Linked DNA regions of Homo sapiens: region 2 is linked to region 1. Evidence: promoter capture Hi-C in 16 types of primary human blood cells and fetal thymus (Javierre and others, 2016). All regions are on one chromosome and are shown on one strand. Each heading gives the region's core, a stretch centred on a gene start or on the middle of the fragment in contact. The rest is flanking DNA. Distances are from core to core; before and after follow the strand shown. Region 1 holds the start of CTXN1 (cortexin 1). Region 2 holds the start of MARCHF2 (membrane associated ring-CH-type finger 2).

Region 1 (4,987 bases), core at 2,418-4,917:
CTCATGTCACTTCCAGAGGAGCTGCCACTCCTGCCCTGCACAGCCCTGGTTGAGCATATGACGGAGACGTACCTACGCCTGACAGCCCCCCAGCCCATTCCCGCTGGAGGGAGCCTGGGGCCTGCAGCAGAAGGGGATGGGGCTGGCTCCAAGGCACCAGAGGAGACCCCCCCAGCCACCGAGAAGGCCGAGCACAGCGAACTGAAATCGCCTTGGCAAGCAGCTGGGATCTGTCCCCTGAACCCGTTCCTGGTGCCCCTGGAGCTTCTGGGTCGGGCAGCCACCCCTGCCAGGTGAGGGGCATGGCGGGCAGGAGGCCACACCAGGCCCCCCGCCCTGCCCCTCGGTTCTGCTCGGCTGGCCCTGGCTCTTTCTGAGGATCCCGTCATGGGGGAAGGTCCTTGAGATGATGCTCAGCTGTGGGGCGGGCCTCTAAGATGCCCCATACTTTGGGGGTCTCAGAAATGGAACCCCCGTTGTACAGGGGTTGGGTGGGGGTTGCAGGACTCCACTCACAAGCCTCCTGATGTCAAGGACAGGCGGACAGGGCTGGCCTCCCCCAGTCCCCAAGCCCCACTGTGCCTTGTTGTCTGCTGGGGGGCCATAGCTGGCACTGCCCACCGTAAAGGCCCTCGCACATTTTCCCCCTTCCTGTACACCTCGGGGCCAGCATCCTCACCTTCTTCAACTGACCAGTCGTGGTTACTCCCTGCTGCCAGGTCCTTCCCCTTCCCGGGGGTATTCTGTGACCATGAATAAAGTTATCATTCTCTTTCTCTTTCACCTGTGACTTAAAGATGGAAGTGGGGGCCCTGAAGTGTCAGAGCTTGGGGGTCACAGGGCTGGGGGTGTGTGCCAGGGAGGAGAGCTGCCACCTGACTGGTGTGATGAGGCCTGGGGTGAGGAGCCCCTTGGTGACTGTGAAGCTGACAAGTGTGGATGGGGAGAGCCGGCAGGGCACCTTGGGGACAGGCGTCAGGGATGGGTTTCAGAGTAGGGCAAAATCACATCGCACAGGTGGAGGGGAGAAGGCAGCAGAGAGTGGGGGTGACCCGGTGGAAGGAGTTGAGCCCCAGGCTGGGCGGTTAGAGGAAGATAGATAGGGGTGGGCTGCCCCGAGTGGCAGGAGGCTAGTGGGAGTGGAGTGTCCCCTGGGGTGGCTTTGGGACCTCAAGGATCCCTAGAAGGCGGGGAGGGAGGGGTACTGGAGTCAGGGCTGACCCCAAACCCCTGGGGGTGCTGGGACCCCGCTTGAGGCCCCCTCCATCAGCTTCACCTGCCCTGTGGGTGTGGACCGAGGGTCGGGTCCTAGAGAGGGAAGCAGATGTCCTCCCACGGCACCGCGTCCCACGCCCAGCTAGTAATCCAAGTCGGTAAATTCTCCGTTCTCGGAGCCTGTGCATTCACCCAGCCTGCCTTTTATAGAAACGCTCATTCCTCCCCCCACACACTGCACACGGCTCCCCTGGGGTGCACATCTCTTGGGAGGGCCTTGGAGCACAGCCAGCCCACTCCGTCCGTGGTCACCGCCCCACCGCACCAGACCCACAAACGCTGCCAATGGTGGTGGGCAGGGGGAGGAGGCTTAGGCTGCAGGTACGGTCGGTCGTCGGAGCCTCCCTCCAGGGCTGGCAGAGGGTGCGCCTCCCAGTTCCCCACAGGGCTGAGTCTCTCTCACCACCCCCGGCGCCTCCCCAGATCAACAGAATTGTGTGTGGAGGGGAGGCAGCTGGGGGTTACACATCAGCCCCCCCCCCCAAAGCCGGTGAAAGGTGCTTGTGATCTTGGTGTCTTTGCAGCCCTGGGAAGCTTTAAAAACATGCAAAAGCCAGACCTGGGTTCCACTTCCAGCCCTACCAGACTCTAGCCATGTGACTGTGGGCAAGTCAGTCACTGGAGCTGCCTGGCCCTCGGTCTCCTGGCCTGTAGAATAGGGATGCTAACAGGGCCTGGCTCATTCTCACGATCCCGAAGAGGAGACAGGCTATAAACAGGAGGTGCCAACTCAGCACGCTACTTGGCATGCAGTAAGCGCTCAATAATAGCTTTTATTATCATGTTCGGCTCAGAGGCAGGGAGGAGTGGAACGGCATGGGAGGGCTGCGGGAGGCACGGCAGGGGGGTCAGGGGCAAGTGGCAGGAGGGCGGATGGGGGGCAGCGGTGGGCACCGGGGCAGGGCGCGCTGACCTGTCCTGGGGCCCGGGTTGGGGGCAGAAATGAGCCTGCCCACGCTGTCCCGCCACGGCAGGCGCCACGCATCCTCGACACAGCCGCCATGGCAGGCCTTCGGGCTCCGTCTCCGGGACAGGCGGTGCAGGGCAAATTGGTATGCAGCGTCCGCCCCGTGGGCCCGGGAGAGCCTGCCCCGCAGGGACCAGAGCCCAAGGACGGGCTCAACACTCAGTCAAGGTGGGGTTGACGACGGCCAGACAACAGGGGAGGGAGGAGGGACAAGGGGGTCCCCACTTCCAGGGACGCACAATAGCAGAGCCACTTACACGCTGGGGAGGGGGCGGTGCGGGGGTCCTCCTCCCGCCCGGGATTCAGAGTCGGGGGTGGGGGCCAGCCGGGCGGGTGAGATGCGCAGAGAGGAAGGGACAGGGCGGATAAAGGCACGAGGTGGGGCTCCGGCCAGGCCAGGAAGGGACATGGGAGGGGTCTCGAGGGGGAGGGGCTGGGCTTCTCCCAACTCCCTCCCCCTCTCCCCCGGGCTGGGGGCTCCGGGGCGGGATCCTGAGCGCAGTCCTGGCCCCGCGGCGCCCCCCGCCGGGCCGGCCCTCTGAGACCCCGGCGCAGGGCCGGCTAGGGGGCGCCGCGCCCCTCACACCAACGCGTAGTCGAACTGCCCGCGCTCGAGCGCCTCCTTGTGGTCGGTCCAGGACGAGGCGGGCATGCGGCTGTAGGGGTCGAGCAGGATGCGCACGCAGCGCACCATCAACAGCACCAGCACCACGAGCAGGCAGAGCACGAAGGCGAACACCGTGCGCTGCTCCGCGTCCAGGCCCGCGCCCACCGGGGGCCCCGTCGACGGCGGCAGGGGCTCCGGCGACAGCGTCCACGTCGCGCTCATGGCTCACATCGCCGCGCGCCCTGCGGAGGAGGGGACCCGCCCCGGGCGCCGGGGATGAGGCTGCGCCCTCCCTCCCGCGCCTCCTCCGCTTCGCCCCCTCCTGCCGCCGCCGCCGCCGCCTCCCTTAACGTGCCCGACCCCATCCCCCGCCCGCGCCTCGGTCCCCGGGCTACGCCCATGCCCGGCCCGCCGGATCGCCGCCACCACCACGCGGGGACCCAACTCTGGCCGTGCGCGCAGGTGGGGGCGCTGAGAGCCGGGAAACGGAGCCGCGCCCGGCCTGGGCCGCACACAACAGGTGCGAAAGCGCGGCCGCGGCCCGGGCGCGCGGCGTGGGGACGGTCCCCGCGGCCCCTGCCCCCGCTCCCTTTGTTCTCGGCGGCCTGGGACCCCCTCCCCCACCGCCCCCGCCCCGGCGCGCCCCTCACCCTGGCTTCGACCCGGACGGGGACCGACCGCCCGGCGGCCGCGCTCTCTCAGGGACCCGCGCCGGCTGCGCGTTCGGCCTCTCCCCGGCGGCGGCGGCGGCGGCCCGGGCTCCGGCTCAGCCCACCCCACCCGCCCCTGGAGCGGCGGAGACCGAGGCAGGCAAGCAGCGCGCGAGCCGGGCCGCCGCGGCTGTTCCTATGGCGACGGGGGCGGGGCCGCCGCGGGGGGCGGGGCTGCAGGGGGCGGAGGCTGCGCAGGGAGCGGCGCGCGAGCCAGCGACCCCGCCCGGGCCTGCGGGAGGACGGAACCCCAGCCCCGAGGACCCGCGAGCACCCACGACCTCGCCGGGGAGTGGGCAGCTGCCACTCCCACCTCCCCTGGCACTTCGGGCCCCCCAGCCTGCCCTGTGCCTGCATTCTCCTCCGCGATAGACCCCACTCGAGACTCCCTGTTTGTGGGGGGACCTCAGTGGCCCTAAAACACTCATATGGGCACTCAAGCTCCCCCGGCCCTGGGGACCTCAATTCTCAGAGAGCTCAGGCAGGTCACTGGGATGAGTAAGTCCCCCTAGTTTTGTCTGTCACTGGCCTCGTCTTCCAACTCAGGGTCCAGCCCTGGGCAAGGCGTCCACCCACTGCGGCTGCAGTTCCTCACTCGACCTTGACCGCCTCCCACAGCAGCCGCCTGCTCCCACCCCCACCATCGCCTCGGCCACTCCCGCGCCAGAGAAGACACTTCAGACTCCGTAGCTGCTCTTCTGCAATTCGGTGTTTTATTCTTTCCAAATCTCAGGCTTATGCACAAGATGGAAGAGCACTGTTAAAATTAAAAAATGGACCTAAAGTGGCTTGGCTGACGTGGCTAGCGGGCCACTGAGCCGCGGGTCCCGGGTCCCACCCTGCTGTGGGGGGAGTCCCTGGGCCCTGGGGCCTCTTGGCACTGTGTGACCTGTGTGCACCCCAGGTGACCAGGCGCCGGGACCCCTGCAGGGCAGAGCAACAGGGCAGGGGTTGGCCCTGCGGGGGAGTGTCTCCAGCTGCCGCGCACCCGCAACAGCCCGTTGTCCCCTCCCGGGCCAGCTGGTCTTGCAGCCGTCCTGGCAGAGCTGGGGGCAGAGCCCGCAGTCTTGTTCCCAGAGGTCTGGAGTTGCCGCAGGTGGTGTTGCGGTGCCTCTGTGCCTGATGACCCAGGCCGGGGCTACCTGGCTCCGGCACCACACTCAGAGAATCTGCTCGGTGCTGGAGGCCGAGATGTCCAGGAGCCGCCAGGCCGCGTAGGGGTTGAGCTCGTCCTGGTCTCGGCAGAGCGCCCACACGTACAGCATCCGCAGCACCTTGTCCTGCAGGGTGGGGTGGGAAGGGCACTGTTGAGAGGGTTGAGGTGACCCAGGCAGCTCTGGGGGGGGGCCAGGCTCTGTGGGGCAGGAGCCACCGGCAACTTCCCCAGGGGCTGGGAGCAGAGGCCAGCACAATTGCCTAGACTCAGGA
Region 2 (5,852 bases), core at 671-3,170, 490 kb after region 1:
CAGCATTGTATGCATCCTGAAAACACAACGTCACATCTGTTTCCTGCCACAAATGCAAAATCATGAGAAAGTATTAGACAAATAGCAATGGAAGGACTTCCTGCAAAATTACTAGCCTGGAATTTTTGAAAAATATTGATGTCATGGAGAGAAGGTAAGATTGATAAAATGTTCCAGAAAGAGAGACTAAATTAGAGTCGTTAACAACAAAATACAATGCTTGATCCTGGGATGGATTTGGGATTTTTTGTTTTTTGACACAGGATCTTGCTCTGTTGCCCAGGCTGGAATGCAGTGGTGAGGTAATGGCTCACTGCAGCCCAGAACTCCTGGGCTCAATTGATCCTCTCACTTCAGCCTCCCAAGTAGCTGGGACCACAGGAGGATGCCACCACAACTGGCTAATATTTTTATTTTATTTTGTAGAGATGGGGTCTCACTGTGCTGCCCAGACTGATCTCAGACTCCTAGACCCAAGAGACCTTCCTGCCTTGGGCTCCCAAAGAGCTGGGATTGCAGACATGACTCACTGTGCCTGGCCTGGACTTTGGATTTTTAAAGGACTTTATTGGAAACTTTTCTTTTCTTTTTTTTGAGACAGAGTCTGGCTGTGTTGCCCAGGTTAGAGTGCAGTGGCAAGATCTCCGCTCACTGCAACCTCCACCTTGCAGATTCAAGCAATTCTCCTGCCTCAGCCTCCTGAGTAGCTGGAATTACAGGTGCCCACAACAAAACCCAGCTAATTATTTGTATTTTTAGTACAGACAGGGTTTCACCATGTTGGCCGGGCTGGTCTCGAACTCCTGACCTCAAATGATCCAAGTGCTGGGATTACAGGCATGAGTCACTGCACCTGGCCTTTGAATGGGCTCTGGGAATTACATGATAATATTAGATGAACATTAATTTTCTGATTTTGAAGGTTATACTGTGATTATGTGCAAAAGTGTGCTTATACTAAGTGAACATATAGTGCAGTATTTTTTTAAAAATTGATCTGTCTTAGAGATGGGGGTGGGTGAGTTTACTATGTTGCCCAGACTGGCCTCGAACTCCTGGGCTCAAGTGATCCTCTTGCCTCAGCCTCCAGAGCAGCTGGGACTACAGGCCTGGGCCACCACACTTGGCTAACTTTTATTTTATTTTATTTTATTATTTATTTATTTATGTATTTATTTGAGACAGAGTCTCACTCTGTCACCCAGGCTGGAGTGCAGTGGCGCGATGTCGGCTCACTGCAAGCTCTGCCTCCCGGGTTCACGCCATTCCTCTGCCTCAGCCTCCCGAGTAGCTGGGACTACAGGCGCCCGCCACCACGCCCGGCTAATTTTTTTGTATTTTTAGTAGAGACGGGGTTTCACCGTGTTAGCCAGGATGGTCTCGATCTCCTGACCTCGTGATCCGCCCGCCTCGGCTTCCCAAAGTGCTAGGATTACAGGCGTGAGCCACCGCGCCCATCCTTTTAAATTTTTTGTAGAGACGGGAACTCACCATGTTGCCCAGGCTGGTCCCCAACATCTGGCCTCAAGCGATCCTTCCGTCTCGGCCTCCCAAAGTGCTCCGATTACAGGCATGAGCCACTGCACCCGGCCAGTCTCAAAAAAAAAAAAGTTAAATTCTGCAGAGGTTTTATTTATTAGAGGACGCTGGCCGTCTGCAGGTGGCGCAGCAGCACCCCCTCGTGCCTGGGGCGGGGCTGGGGCGGGGCCAGTGCTGGGGCGGAGCCGGAGCTGGGGGCGGAGCCAAGACGCGGCAGGGGCGGAGCCAGCAGCTGCGGCACAGCGGGGCCTGTGCGGCCCAAGTCGTCCCTGTGGCCTCCGGCCCCGCCTCTTAGGGCGGGACGTGCAAGGCGATTGGCGAATGCAGGCGAGAGGCGGTCGCTATTGGTCCGCGGCGCTGTCGGCTCGGCGGGCGGTGCCCGGACGCAGGTGCCGGCCGGAGCGGAGCTAGTGGCGCCGACGGGCCGGGCCGGGCCGGGACCGGGGCCGAGGCGAACCGAGGGGCCTGTGCGGCCGCCCGGCCCGGCCGCGGATCAGGTAGGCACGGGCCTGCAGGTAGGGCCGGAGGACGCCAGTCCGCGGGCCGGCCCCGGGTTCGAGGCCGGAGCTCGGCACCCGGGCGGGACGGCTGGGCTCGATCCCTTGGCCACAGCCTTCTCGGGGACGCGGGGACCTCAGTTCCCGTGTCAAGGCCGGTGGGAGGTCTCCGGGGTCCGGCACACATAGGCGCCTCTCCGAGCCTCGGTTTCCCCACCTGTGAAACTGGGTCATCCCATTGCCAACCTGATGGGGCTTCTGGGAGGATTCAGGAGGTGGCTGGTGCAGAAAACGCCTGACACACAGTAGGCAACTGCTAAGTGGCCAATGCCCTTCCCCAACCTCCTTCTCAGAGCGGCTCTGCCTGCAAAATAGTAAGTTATAATATAATGACCCAGCCACTTTGCACAAAGATGCTGAAACAGGATGCCCTGTGCTATGTGGGTGCTCAAAACGGGGTAGTCAAATGGGCATGTTGAGCTCATTCAGTTCTTTTGAAACCATACTGAGTAGGTGGAAGCAGTAGAAATGTCCCCTGTTATACAGTTGAGAGAGTCCAGGCTCAAAGAGGTTAAGTGTCTTGCCCAGGGCCACACAGCACATAAGGAGTAGAGCTGGGATTGGAACCTTGCTTCTCATGCAGGGAGGAATGAATGCAATAACAACCTCCACATTTACCCTAAAAAATATTAATAGAGCTTTTATTGAGCACTTACTGTGTGTGCCAGGGTTGACTGTGTGACCTCTCATCAACAACTCTGTAAGCTGATGATAGTAATTATAATAAGAGCTAATAGTTATTAACTTCTTAATTTTTTACTAATTTATGAACTACATATCATTATGACTCCCCGTCTTTTTTTTTTTTAGACAGAGTCTCTCTCTCTTGCCCAGGCTGGAATGCAGTGGCACGATCTGAGCTCATTGCAACCTCTGCCTCCCAGATTCAAGCGATTCCTACCTCACCCTGGTCAAGTAGTTGGGATTACAGGCCCCCGCCACCGTGCCTGGCCAATTTTTGTCTTTTTAGCAGAAACGGGGTTTCACCATGTTGACCAGGCTGGTCTCGAACTCCTGGCCTCAAGTGATCCACCTTCCTTGAACTCCCAAAGTGCACAAAGTGCTGGGATTACAGGCGTGAGCCACTGCGCCCGGCCTGTAACACTCATTTTAGAGATGATAATACTGAGGCTGAGAGAGTAAAACAGCTGCCTGAGACCACAATGTAGGGAGTTTTAGGGCCCTCTGATTCCTCTGCCCTCTGTTTCCTACCTTCAGGAAAAGGAGCCTGGGCAGGTATGGAAAAGACTGGGGGGCCTCAGTGCCACCCTAAACAAGCCTAGCTAAGGGTGAGCTTTACTGGATGAATTCAGCCTGGAGGCTCCTTCTCAGGAGACCCCTCCACGGACAGAGTCCACCAGCTCCATCATTAGAATGAGGCCCAGAGAAGCAAAGTGACTTGAACCAGGACACCCAGCATCGGTGGCATAGCCAGGAGGGCCAGGAGTTAAAGAACCCAGGTCTCTTGAGGTCCAGAACCACTCCCTGGACTGTTTTAAGTTCAAATTCTGACACCACCCCTTCCTAGCTATATGACCTTGGGAAAGTAGGTGCCTCTCTCCGAGCTTCAGCCTCTTTCCCCATCATAGGGTGTAATTATTGGTTTGTTGTGAAGACTCAATGAGATCTATCTCCAGGCCGGGCGTGGTGGCTCATGCCTGTAATCCCAACACTTTGAGAGGCCAAGGCGGGCAGATCACTAGGCCAGGAGTTCAGGACCAGCCTGGGCAACTTGGCAAAACACCATTTCTACAAAAAAATACAAAAATTAGCTGGATGTGGTGGTGTGCAGAGCTACTCAGGAGGCTGAGGTGGGAGGATCACCTGAACCTGGGGGCGGTGGAAGCTTCAGTGAGCTGTGATTACTACACTGCCCTCCAGCCTTTTGGGTGACAGATTGAGACCCTGCCTCAAAAGAAAAAAAAAAAAAAACAGACAAAAGAAAGAAAAGAAATAGGCCAGGCGCGGTGACTCATGCCTGTAATCCCAGCACTTTGGGAAGCCAAGGCGGGTGGATCACCTGAGATAAGGAGTTTGAGACCATCCTGGCCAACATGGTGAAACCCCGTCTCTACTAAAAATACAAATAATTAGCCAGCTGTGGGTGGAGGGCACCGGTAATCCCAGCTACTCTGGTGGTTGAGGCAGGAGAATCGCTTGAACCTGGGAGGCGGAGGTTGCAGAGAACCGAGGTGGTGCCATTGCTCTCCACCCTGGGCAACAAGAGTGAAACTCCATCTCAAAAAAAAAAAAACAAAAAAAACAAAAAAAAAAACCAGACAAAAGAAAGAAGAGAAATAAATCTCCTGGGCACTGGGCCAAGTTTGCTGGAGCCATCAGATCACTCTCCCATTTCAGCAGCCTCAGAGCTGAGTCCGACTTGCAGTCACCCTCTCTTTGTGTCCAGCCTCAAGTTTGGCCTCTTCCAGGCCTGGGCCTCTGTGGTTTGAGTGGACCTCTAGCCTCTAAATATCTCTGATGCCCACCACAGGGGCTGGCCGACCAGGATCGGAGGGTCAAGAGATGTGGCTCTCTCACGCTGTTCTTAAACGGAGTGAGGATTGAGAAATGACTACAACATGGCCAGGCACAGTGGCTCATGCCTGTAATCCCAGCACTTTAGGAGGCTGAGGTGGGCGGATCACGAGGTCAGGAGTTCGAGACTGGCCTGGCCAACATGGTGAAACCCTGTCTCTACTAAAAATACAAAAATTAGCCGGGTATGGTGGTGGGTGCCTGTAATCCCAGCTACTCGGGAGGCTGACGCAGGAGAATCCCTTGAACCCAGGAGGTGGAGGTTGCAGTGAGCTGAGATCGGCCACTGTACTCCAGCCTGGGCGACAGAGCGAGACTCTGTCTCAAAAAAAAAAAAAAAAAAAAAATGACTGCAGCAGCAACCAGAAATGCAGCAGCTCTGGGCTAGACAGAGGGCCAGGTGCTGGGGACAGCGGGAGGCAATCTGACAGGGTCTCTTTTTTACAGAATTCACTGTAGGGTAGGACAACAGACGTGGCTAAATACGTAGGTGAATAAGTAGAATGTTTCAGACAGGGACACATGCCACGAGTGGAATCAAGTGGACCCCATTGGCACTTCATTGATTGATTGAGACAGGGTCTTGCTCTGTGGCCCAGGCTGGAGTGCAGTTGTGTGATCATGGCTCACTGCAGCCTCAACCTGGGTGCAAGCGATTCTCCCACCTCAGCCTCCTGAGTAGCTGGGATTACAGGCGCACATCACCACACCCGGCTCATTTTTGTATTTTTTGTAGAGACGGGGTCTTGGTATGTTGCCCAGGCTTCTCTCAAACTCCTGGGCTCAAGCGATCCTCCCACCTCAGCCCCCAAAGTGTTGGGATTACAGGCATGAGCCAATGCGCCAGGCCCCAGACAGCATTGTCGAGAAGGCTTCTCCAGGAAGGTGACCTTTGAAGGAGACACTTATAACAACTGTTTCGAGTTCAGTGAGATGATGACTATGTATGGAGATTGCTTGGCATAGTGTCTGGTTCTTAATAGATAGAAGCTGCTAGTATAATTTTGGTGGTTTGCAGGCCTTGCATTAAGAGATTTACCTGTGGTTTTTTTTTTTTCTCCCTGATAGAAGAAATATTAGAACACCACATGCAGGAGCTGGGATAGTTCCTGTAATATCCAGTTATTTGCAGAAATGTAAAGACCAGGCCAGGGGTGGTGGCTCAAGCCTGTAATCCCAGCACTTTGGGAGGCCGAGGCGGGCAGATCACTTGAGATCAGC

What was found. The method cuts DNA at HindIII sites, captures the fragments that hold promoters and counts their contacts. A CHiCAGO score of 5 or more calls a contact.
Region 2: the fragment with the promoter of MARCHF2 here is called in contact with the fragment with the promoter of CTXN1 in region 1 in 1 of 17 cell types (neutrophils); the score reaches 6.2 in neutrophils.

The regions. Positions count from the first base shown.
Region 1 is chr19:7,922,468-7,927,454 of GRCh38, forward strand. CTXN1 (cortexin 1) reads right to left here and starts at 3,668. Exons shown (of 2, transcript NM_206833.4): 1 at 3,500-3,668; 2 at 2,024-3,091. The coding sequence starts at 3,071. The coding sequence ends at 2,823. It overlaps TIMM44 (translocase of inner mitochondrial membrane 44), which reads right to left. Exons shown (of 13, transcript NM_006351.4): 13 at 4,251-4,839. The coding sequence ends at 4,720. It overlaps LOC124904629 (a long non-coding RNA gene), which reads left to right and starts at 2,938. Exons shown (of 2, transcript XR_007067120.1): 1 at 2,938-3,369; 2 at 4,106-4,343. SNAPC2 (small nuclear RNA activating complex polypeptide 2) reads left to right here. Exons shown (of 5, transcript NM_003083.4): 5 at 1-783. The coding sequence ends at 297. RefSeq lists silencers at 2,963-3,052, 3,583-3,852 and an enhancer at 4,349-4,987. The HindIII fragment of the contact is 5,018 bases long and covers 1,808-4,987 here.
Region 2 is chr19:8,411,385-8,417,236 of GRCh38, forward strand. It overlaps MARCHF2 (membrane associated ring-CH-type finger 2), which reads left to right and starts at 1,921. Exons shown (of 5, transcript NM_001005415.2): 1 at 1,921-2,036. RefSeq lists enhancers at 381-675, 1,546-2,046 and silencers at 1,538-1,897, 1,928-2,087, 4,241-4,535. The HindIII fragment of the contact is 7,216 bases long and covers 1-3,940 here.